Linked DNA regions of Homo sapiens: region 2 is linked to region 1. The links are contacts of gene promoters, found by promoter capture Hi-C in human tissues and cell types (Jung and others, 2019). All regions are on one chromosome and are shown on one strand. Each heading gives the region's core, a stretch centred on a gene start or on the middle of the fragment in contact. The rest is flanking DNA. Distances are from core to core; before and after follow the strand shown. Region 1 holds the start of DOCK1 (dedicator of cytokinesis 1). Region 2 overlaps UROS (uroporphyrinogen III synthase).

Region 1 (4,714 bases), core at 683-3,182:
GCACGACCAATAAGGCCCTTCTTCTACCTCTGCAGCCTCAATTTATGTCACTTTCCTGTTGTTCCCTATGCTTCGGCCATCCTGGCCTTTCTGTGCTCTGAAGGAGTGGTGCTCCTTCCTAAACCAGGGCCTTTTCACGTGCTGTTCCCACTCCAGTTCACCTAGCTGGTTTCTGCTTATCCTTAAAGTCTGGGTTTATCTTATTTCCTCAAGGGAGGCCTCCCTGCTCTGGAGCAGGTCAGGCCACCATGTCCTTTACCGTAGAGCACCCTACTTGTCCTGGACAGCACCTTCACAGATGCTTCTCCTTCAAGGGGTCAGAGTCACCAGGCCACCACTACAGCGCCTGAGCCCCGGAGGTTTCTGATTTCCACAGAAAGCTTCAAGTGCATGCTGTGTGTGAGTGAGCCTGGCCACTTCCTCTGTGGGACTTCAGTTCCTTATCAGTAAAACAGAGCCCGTGGCTTTCCATGAATGTGGGGTTGACTTACCAGAATGCTCAGGTCCCACGTTATCCTCTTGAACGCAGCAGCTTTCCTCTAACCCACGAAAATGGAAAAGCTCCTGTGCCATTCCCAAATACTTATTTAATCTGCATTCTGGGTGGCCCCTAGGGCAGGTGACGGGCATTCTCTACCGCAGGATGGTGCCCCACCTGGTCCTCCCCAGGCCCTGTGGCCATCCTGGCCACCTCCCTGTGGGCTCTCCCAGCCCTGCTGTTCAGCACTGTCCCTACCTCACAGAGGTAGGGACCTCTTTTTCTTACCTTCTTCCTTTTCTTACCTTCGTTCCTCCAATCCCTGACGGCCCCCAGACCTACTGTAGTTGTCTCTGTGTCTTCGGAGAGAAGACACCCCATTAATGTGCCATGAAACCAAATTTATTCCATTTAAAGGGCTGCCTTCATTCGGAGGCTTTGTCCATGTCTTGGTTTTAACCTCTCTTTTCTGAAATTACAGTAAAAATAAATAGGTGTGTGTTGCTTTAACTTTTCCCTTGGAGAAATCTGAAGCCCCCACCTTTTACTGTCATGGGAAACACCAGGGCCTGAGAAGAACTCCCACCTCGGGCGAGGATGCCGTTCCTGAGCCCCACGCGTGGCCTGGGCTTTCCTTTCCCTACTTCTCTCTTCCCCCGACTTCAGCAGATCCTGAGTCCCACAACTATTCTAGCATTAGCTTCTGCAAGCCCAGCTGGGCTGAGGTTTCTGCGGCTGCTTCCTCTTGGTCTCTCTGGAAAACTCCACTCATTCAGCACCCAAGCAAGAGGTCACCTGTCTGGAACGCACTCCCTCGGCAGCGCTGTGCCACCTCTTTCCACCCCATTTGAGTGGCCGGCACTTACCTGTGCTGTTTGTTACCTGACGTGTCCCTTCTCCCACCTACCAGGCAGTTGGTGCGGCGCTCCCAGCACACTCGGGCAATGAGTGGGCAGGCGCTCAGGTAACGTTTGTCGAATGAATGAATGAGCCACGTGCTCAGGAGGACCCTTTCCAGAGCCTCTGCTGGTTTGTTCTGCTCCGGGACTCTCCACCAGGGAGAAATCCGAGCTGGGGACCTCGCACCACCAGGCTCCGGCCTAAGCCCGCGCCTTGCAAGCCGCCCGTTTCCTACCTCCCGTAGAAACCCCCCGTCCGTCCCGCCCCCCTAAGGGCGCACCCCTCTCACGGCGTGAGCGCCAGCCCCGGGAGCTCCAGGAACTCAGGAGAACCCCGCGGGGGTGCCCGGGTGCGGAGCGCGGGGCTGGGCGCACTGGGACAGAGGAAGGGGAGCCCCGGCGACCGCGGGGTCGGGGCCCAGGGTCCGCGCCGAGGGCGGGCGCAGAGCCCGCGGCCGTCCCGCCTCCCGCCGGCGCTCCCGGCCTTTCCCATCCGGCCCGCGACGCTCCGCCCGCCCCGTCCCACATGACGCCGCCTCCGCCGCAAACTTTTTCCTCCCCATCCTGTCGCGGCTCGAAAGGAATGGAAAATGGCGGCCTAGACGCGGAGTTTCCTGCCCGACCCGCGGCGGCTCCGGCGGCGCCATGACGCGCTGGGTGCCCACCAAGCGCGAGGAGAAGTACGGCGTGGGTGAGCAGCGCCGCCGCCGCCGCGCCTCTCGCCCCAAGCCCAGGCTCCGGCGGGGCGGGTGTGCCGGGCGCCTGTTGCCGCCGCCCCGAGCGGCCGCCGGGCCGGGGAGAGGCGCTTCCGCCCGCGCCCGCGCCGCCGCCCCGCTCGCAATGCCCGGCGACCCCGGCCGCCCCGCGCCCCCGGCGGCGTCAGCTCCAGCCCCGGGGATGCGGGTCGGGAACACGAGGGGGTGGGGTGGGAATGGGGGCGGGCGCGTCCCTCCCTAGGGTGTCCCCTCCGACGCCCGCTCCTCTGGACCTCTGCCGTGGAGCCCCCCGGGCTACCCCCAACTCCCCGGCCCCGGCCGCTGCTATCTGCGCGGCTGGGCCCGTCAGGGAAGCCCAGGGGTCACTGTCTCGCGGCGGCTTCTGCTTCTTGGATGAACTTGCGTCCCGCGTCCGGGCTCTGGGTGGGCGGGCTCAGGTCGGCGCGGTCCCAGCGGATAATTCCGCCCTTTCCCGGCGGGGAGGAGGGGGCGCGACCTGGGTGGCCAGCGCCCCTTGCCCCTCGGCGGTCTCGCTGGGGACCGTGTGGGACCTTGGAGAGAAGGCGAGCGGCCGAGCGCCCCAGTGGCCCCAGGCCTGGAGACCCTTCCGGGAGAGCGGGGGCCTGTTTTTGCTCCGCGGCTCTTTGTCGCTTCCGAGGGGGGATGGAAGGAGTCGGGTTGCAAGTTTACATTTCGGACCCGAGTGCGCATTCCTGAGAGGGAGGCTTTCCCTTGCGGCTGAATAGACGGGCCCGTCCGCGTGGGACCCGCATCCTTGCGCCCCGGGGACCCGCAGCCGGTCGCCGAGGCCTGCGGACGCCCACCTCTTCGTGATCTGCGCGCCTGGTGTCGGGACTGGGCCGTGGCTACTCTCCTGCTCTCCCGGGTCCGGGATCTTCCCAGTTGGTTTTCGGGCTTGCTATTCCCCGTCCCACCATCCACAGACATCCTTGACCGCCTGCCTCATCCAGGCCACTCGACCCGACTGGGAAGACCTTTGGTGGTCTCGCCTCCCACAGCCCAGGCTGTGTCCTCCAAGGGCACCGTCTCAGCAGCAGCCCCGCGCCCATTCTGTGCCTGGCCCGTGCTGGACCTGCCCGACCCTCTGCTGGTGTGGTTCGAATCCTGGCTCTCTGACTTTTGGGAAGCGCCCTGGCAGCCCTTGTCCCCGGAGCGCTCTCCTTTCTGTGAACAGTTGCTTCTCTCTGCTGTCAATGACTTACAGTATGCCCTGACCACGGAGCCAGCTGGACAGTGGTCACGGGGACAGTCCTGGGACAGCCCTGGGTCCTACCGGGCCTGCACTTAGCTTGTTCCACATGCTGGGAGGCATAGGGGGCCTCCTTGCTTCAGGACCATTATGACTGAGCTTCCTCCCCATCTCCCCATTTTGCAGATGAGGAAACTGAGGCCCAGACACATTCACAAAAGTGCAGGAGAGCTCATCTGACTGCAGACTCAGTGTGTAACCTGCACCCTGTGCACCACCTAATGGATTCAGTCTGGGGCACTTGGCACGGGCCTTCAGTCTGCATCAGAGGCGAGAGGTTCGGGGTGGATATTCCACCTGAGAATGCTTGGGTTGTGGCGACAGTGGGGGTCCCTGCGGGGGTAGTGTGTAGAGGAGAGAGCTGAGGACTGACTCCCAGGGAACCTAGCACCAGCACACGCAGAGAGAGAGGAAGAGGTGGATAGGCAGGAGAGGCAGGAGGCTGGCAGAGGAGCAGGCATCCCATAGCCCTGGCCCTGCTGAGGAAGCAACTTAGGTGCCCATGGCCAGGGTGCAGTAGTGGCCATTGGGGGTGTAGTGGGGGCCATCGGGGTGCAGTGGGGGCCATCACTGCTCCCATTCTACAGAGGCAAGGAAGAGGTGGATTGCTTGCCTGAGGTCACATCACCAGTAAGTGGTGCCTCCTGGGTGTGAAGTGTGGCCGCCCTGGGTTCAGCTGCCACAGTGTCCTGTGCTTGCCTGCAGATGGGGAGGGCTTCTCTTTGGGACGCCACATTTTAAGAGACCTTGTTACCCTTCGTCTGCCCCCAGAGAGACCTGGATGGTGTCAGTTAGGATCCTATAGTGTAGCTGGATGGTCTGGAGAAGACTGAAAAGAATGTTCGTAGATGGGAGAACGGGGTCTCCTTGCTGGGGAGGAGGCTGAGGGCCAGAACAGGGCGGTGCGCTTGAGTCTCACACCTTCCAGAAGCTTCACCAGCGCTCATGGTGGTGACTTCTAACATCACACCTCTTGCTAATACTTTGGTTTTAAGAAAACTCCATGTTTGATTATTAAGAAAAAATAAATTTAAAAAAGTTAAAAAAAGAAAAAATAGAAAACTGTTGGAAAATTTTAAAAGGCGAAAAGTATCTGGGATGGTTTTGCCAGGAAATGCTAGGAAAGATGTGAAGGGCTGAAGGTAGAGAAGAGAGTGGCTGCTGTGCTTCCTCTCACTGGGTGCAGATGACAGCTTGCTGGGTAGACAGTAATGAGACAGCACCACTCCATCGGCATCCAGAGGCACTTTAACCAGAGTCCCCCATCAGGGAGGGTGGGAGGGGAGCTGAGCATGAGCGCAATGGGGCCATCCCAGGCTCCCCACTTGTCTGCAAGTGTGCAGTGGGAGGA
Region 2 (4,655 bases), core at 67-2,566, 1.1 Mb before region 1:
GCAGAAGCCCTGGGTTTGAGTCCCAGCCCTGTCTCTTACTTGCTAGAGGTCTTAGCTGAGTTGCCTAATTTGAGACCCCAATCTCTAAAACGGGAAAATAATACCTCCCTGGCCTGCTTTGCAGAAGTTGGGGGTGAGGGGTAGATTAAATGAGAGGATGAGTGAAAGGGTTCTAGGACTGCTGAGAGCAATGCAGGTTTGCTGCTCTCACCATGACCTGCTCTCCTGGGCCCCAATCTCTGAGTCTGGGTGGCTTTCTGGAGGGGCTGATAGAGGCTCAGTCAGAACCTCCCAACAGCAGCAGCCTCCTGGAGCCAGGTGAAGTTATGCTGCCATGTTTTAAAGTTTGGGAATAAAATAAGAAGACAGTAAAATAGTCCCTCTCTGGCTTCAGCTGGCAAGGGAGAAATCAAACACTAACATGGTGCTCAGTCACAACAGGCCTTACCTTCTCAGAGAAACTGGGAAGAGACAAAAACTCAAACGATAAAACAGGGATCAAAGTGGCTTCAAGTCCATATAATCCTAATTCCTGAAATGAAAGAATATAGTTCTGGATTGGCTAGGGCTGTTTTTAAAATAAGGGAACATTAACAATTTATTCTGCGTCAGTTCCTCTGAGGTTTTGCAAAACCCATCCCTGCCTGCTCCAGGCCCCTTGACTCAGTAGAAAGGACACTGTGGGATAAGGAGTCTCAGGCCACTTACCCTGATATACGGATCCTGGCCACAGTCATCTTCCTTCGCATCCTTCAGTAAAAGAACCTTCATTATTGCCTGGCAGTCCTTATAGGGCACTGCGACAGAGCAAGGAAACAGATCTTAATTAGATCTCAAAGACTCTTCCTAAGCAATTTCCGATGGGGACGGTACACAAGAAGAAGGCAATCAAATGCTTGTGGAAGAGACCTATCCCTCCTACACCATGACTTAGCACTAATGGGCTTGTTCTTTCTGAAGACCCCTGTCACTGATAAGGCCAAGAAAGAGCATGTTAGCAGTTGATATCACTTGGAAAGACAGATGAAACCATTAGTGAAAGCCAAGTGTCCTATGCCAAACGTTTATGGTTCCGGAAAGAGAACTGATGTAAATTTAGGGTTGTATCAACAACAAACAGAGAAATTGGTATCTTATGTTTTAAGGAGATAAATAGCTTTTCCATTTCAAGATAAATATGCTAAGTAGCTCATAAGCACTTTGGGAAATAATTATATTGACTCTTCTACTTATTAAATGATGTTTTCTAAACGTCAAGTATCATAAGAGAGTCTAACAACATGGAAAACGATTTGTTGACATCAAAAGCTTTATATACTTCATCTTCTTTCTTCCTGTAATTTCACTTCTAAGAATACTAAAGCAATACTGATAAATGTGTCCAAAGATTAACATAAAGATGCTCACACTAGAATTCTTTTGGGTCTCGTTGGGTCATATTAGGGAATGTGGCTCTTATCTTAATAGCAACGGGAAGCTTCTTGTTTATAGATGTATTTTTTTTTTTTTTTTTTTTTTTTTTAGAGGCAGGGTTTCACCATGTTGCCCAGGCTAGTCTCGAACTCCTGAGCTCAGGTGATCTACCTGCCTCGGCCTCCCAAAATGCTGGGATTACAGGAGTGAGCCACTGCACCCAGCCTTATAGATGTATTTCTCCTCTCTTTTCCTCATTTCTGCTTGCCCTTTTACCTTCTCCCTTCTCTAAGGTGATAATATAAGGAAGGAAGTATGGTGTCACAGAATAAGCACAGGACTAAGGGCCAACGGACCTGAGCTCTGGTCTCAGCTTTATGACTTAACCATGGTGTGATCTTGTTTTTTCCCATGTTAAATGGGAATAACCTCTGCCCTACCAAGCCTTAGGGTTGCTGAGTGACTCAAAGAAGATAAAAACAGCGAACAGATCTATTGAACTTACTGCCTCCCAGGCACTATTCTAAGAGCTTCACATGCATTAAGTCCACCTACGAGGCTTAGGAAGAAGCTGAGGTGTACAGAGGATGACACTCATCCAAAGTCTCAGAATTGCTACGTGGCAGAGCTGGGATTCACACCCAACCAGTCTGGCTCCAAAGTCTGTGCTTTTAACCCCCTACGCTATATTATGCCTCACATACACTTTGAATACGAAAATGTTTGGGAAAAATAGAGGTATAAAAATATAAAGTATCACTGTAGTACAAAGTGCTTAGTTTAGTTATGCAAACACCCCAAAGAAAAATCAATCTACCCATTGTAAACAGAGAAAATATTTCTCCTGGGTTCTAATCTGTGGTTCTCTTAGGTAATAAAACCGATGCTGGCATGAAGTTTAGGCTTCTGGATAATAAAGAGCTCCCTGAGATGTGTTGCAAATAAAAATCCAACTACTACCCTTATCCTTTATCTGACGTCACTGAAAGCATTTGTCTTCTTTTTTAATCCTGTATACAATCATTCCCAAACACTGAAAGCATTTCTAATATAAAATTAGGCCAGGACAGTGGTTCATGCCTGGTAATCTCAGCACTTTGGCAGGCTGAGGCAGGAGGATTGCTTGAGAGCAGGAGTCCAAGATCAGCCTGGACAACATAGCGAGACCCCATTTCTACAAAAATTTTAAAAGTTGTTAACAAGGAGCCGGGCATAGTGGCGCATCCCTGTAGTCCTAACTACGCAGGAGGCTGAGGTGGGAGAATCACTTGAGCCCAGGAGTTCAAGGTTGCTGTGGGCTATAATCGTGCCACTGCACTCCAGCCTGGGTGACAGAGAAGGATCTTGTCTAAATAATAATAATAATAATAATAATATAAAATTAAAAGGTTCTGTTGTTGATGATTCTTTGCTGTGCTAGAGTCACATATTATCAGGCTGATTGGGAAAGAAATCAATTGAGAAGCGTGCACAGATAGGTTAACATGTCGCCACCTTGGGCTTTAGGAAGAGGCTTGGTGGAGTAGAGGGTGTTTGCACAGGAGGGCCAGTGTCTGGGTTCTGGTCTAGGCTGCTCTTGCCTCAGTCTCAGTTTCAGATTCCTGTACATTGGAAAGGGGCTGTGAGCCTCTCCATTGTTGGCTTTTTTGATGGACTTTCTTTCCTGTAGTAGATGCTCATTATTTGCTCACCTTGTGGGAAAACAACAATTTCAATTTTACCCAGCATCTTTGAAACAGAAAGAATGATTAATTTTCCTTAAAGTAAAATGGAGCACTTGTCCTTCAAGTTGCCTGCTTAGGTCTCTCCCAAGCATACTCTACTTTCTTTCCTGTTCTAAAGTTTTTTGTTGTTGTTTTTTGAGATGCAGTCCTGCTCTGTCGCCCAGGCTGGAGTGCAGTGGTGCAATCTCAACTCACTGCAACCTCCGCCTCCCGGGTTCAAGCGATTCTCCTGCCTCAGCCTCCTGAGTAGCTGGGACTACAGGCATGCGCCACCATGCCCAGCTAATTTTTGTATTTTAGTAGAGATGGGGTTTCAGCATGTTGGCCAGGATGGTCTCCATCTCTTAACCTCGTGATCCGGCTGCCTTGGCTTCCCAAAGTGTTGAGATTACAGGTGTGAGCCACTGCACCCGGCCTAAAGTTTTTTAAAATAAACTTCCACTCCTGCTCTGAAGCTTGCCTCGGTCACTTTTTCTGCCTTATGCCCCCAGTTGAATTTTCTTCTGAGGAGACAAGATTGAGGTTGCTGCAGGTGTCTACTGATTTGCCACTGGTAACATATTTGGTGCCACGTGACTCAGATGGTAAGGGATCTCTATGCCTCGCTTTCTTCTGCTGGAGGCATCTGATCCCTGTGCAGTTTTTCTTCTCCTCCCTCTCTCCTGCTTACTAAACAACCCCCAGAACAATTCCTCTTGGCCATACGTGACTCTGCTCTCTGCCAGTTGATTTCTTAGCTCACTCTGGTGGGTGGCTCATGGGAGTGGGAAGGACCCTAGGGTCTGCATCAAGCAGATCAGAGGCACTATATGGCCCTCCTTGATAGGAGGCTTGAGACTGGTGAGGCTAGGGCCTAAAAACCGTGCAGTGTCTGGGGTTTCCTCTGCCTTTTTTTCCAATGAAAATAACGAAACCTGTTATTTCCCATTGAGGGGGAAAAAGGCGGGAGAAGCCCCAGCAGAAATGAAGCTGCTCCTGAAGCTTCCAACATGAAACTCACCTCGGCACTGGTAAAAAGAGGGCTCAACCTGTCTCTAGATTTACAGTCTAATGCTTGCTCTGCCATTTTACCCTCATACTTATGTTCATCAATCATTGATGAAAAAGAAAAGAAAAAAAAAATGACTGGAATAAGGGCACCTTACTGGTAAGAAAGAACCAAACCTCAAACCCGTACCTTCTATGTCATGGTGTTCTGGGTATCAGCAATAACAACAGTCACCCTTTTACTGAGCATTTACTCATGTTAATTACTGGGTGTATTAGAGTTCTTCAGAGAAACAGAACCAATGGCATATATTTACATCTAGAAAGGGATTTGTTATAAGGTATTAGCTCATGCAGTTATGGAGGCTGAGAAGTCCCATGATCTGCTGTCTGCAAGCTGGAGACTTGTTAGCAGGAAGGCTGGTGTTGTAGCCTGAAGGCCTGAGAGCCAAGGGTGTAGGTTCCAGCCTGAGTGTGAAGGCCTCAGCACCAGGAGCACCAAGGGCAGAAGATATCCCAGATCAAGCATGC

Evidence for each region. The method cuts DNA at HindIII sites, captures the fragments that hold promoters and counts their contacts. A contact is called where the count stands out against the background at its distance.
Region 2: a fragment that was not itself captured here is called in contact with the fragment with the promoter of DOCK1 in region 1 in 1 of the 25 tissues and cell types used here (IMR-90 fibroblasts).

What each region holds. Positions count from the first base shown.
Region 1 is chr10:126,903,496-126,908,209 of GRCh38, forward strand. It overlaps DOCK1 (dedicator of cytokinesis 1), which reads left to right and starts at 1,933. Exons shown (of 52, transcript NM_001290223.2): 1 at 1,933-2,068. The coding sequence starts at 2,023. It overlaps LOC105378550 (a long non-coding RNA gene), which reads right to left and starts at 1,883. Exons shown (of 2, transcript XR_946449.3): 1 at 1,065-1,883; 2 at 1-947. It overlaps LOC124900289 (a long non-coding RNA gene), which reads left to right and starts at 2,236. Exons shown (of 2, transcript XR_007062336.1): 1 at 2,236-4,714. RefSeq lists an enhancer at 2,954-3,702. The HindIII fragment of the contact is 5,553 bases long and covers 1-4,714 here.
Region 2 is chr10:125,815,729-125,820,383 of GRCh38, forward strand. UROS (uroporphyrinogen III synthase) reads right to left here. Exons shown (of 10, transcript NM_000375.3): 2 at 709-797; 3 at 449-532. The coding sequence starts at 771. MIR4484 (microRNA 4484) reads left to right here and starts at 4,012; the gene lies at 4,012-4,094. RefSeq lists a cis regulatory region at 963-975. The HindIII fragment of the contact is 5,078 bases long and covers 1-3,855 here.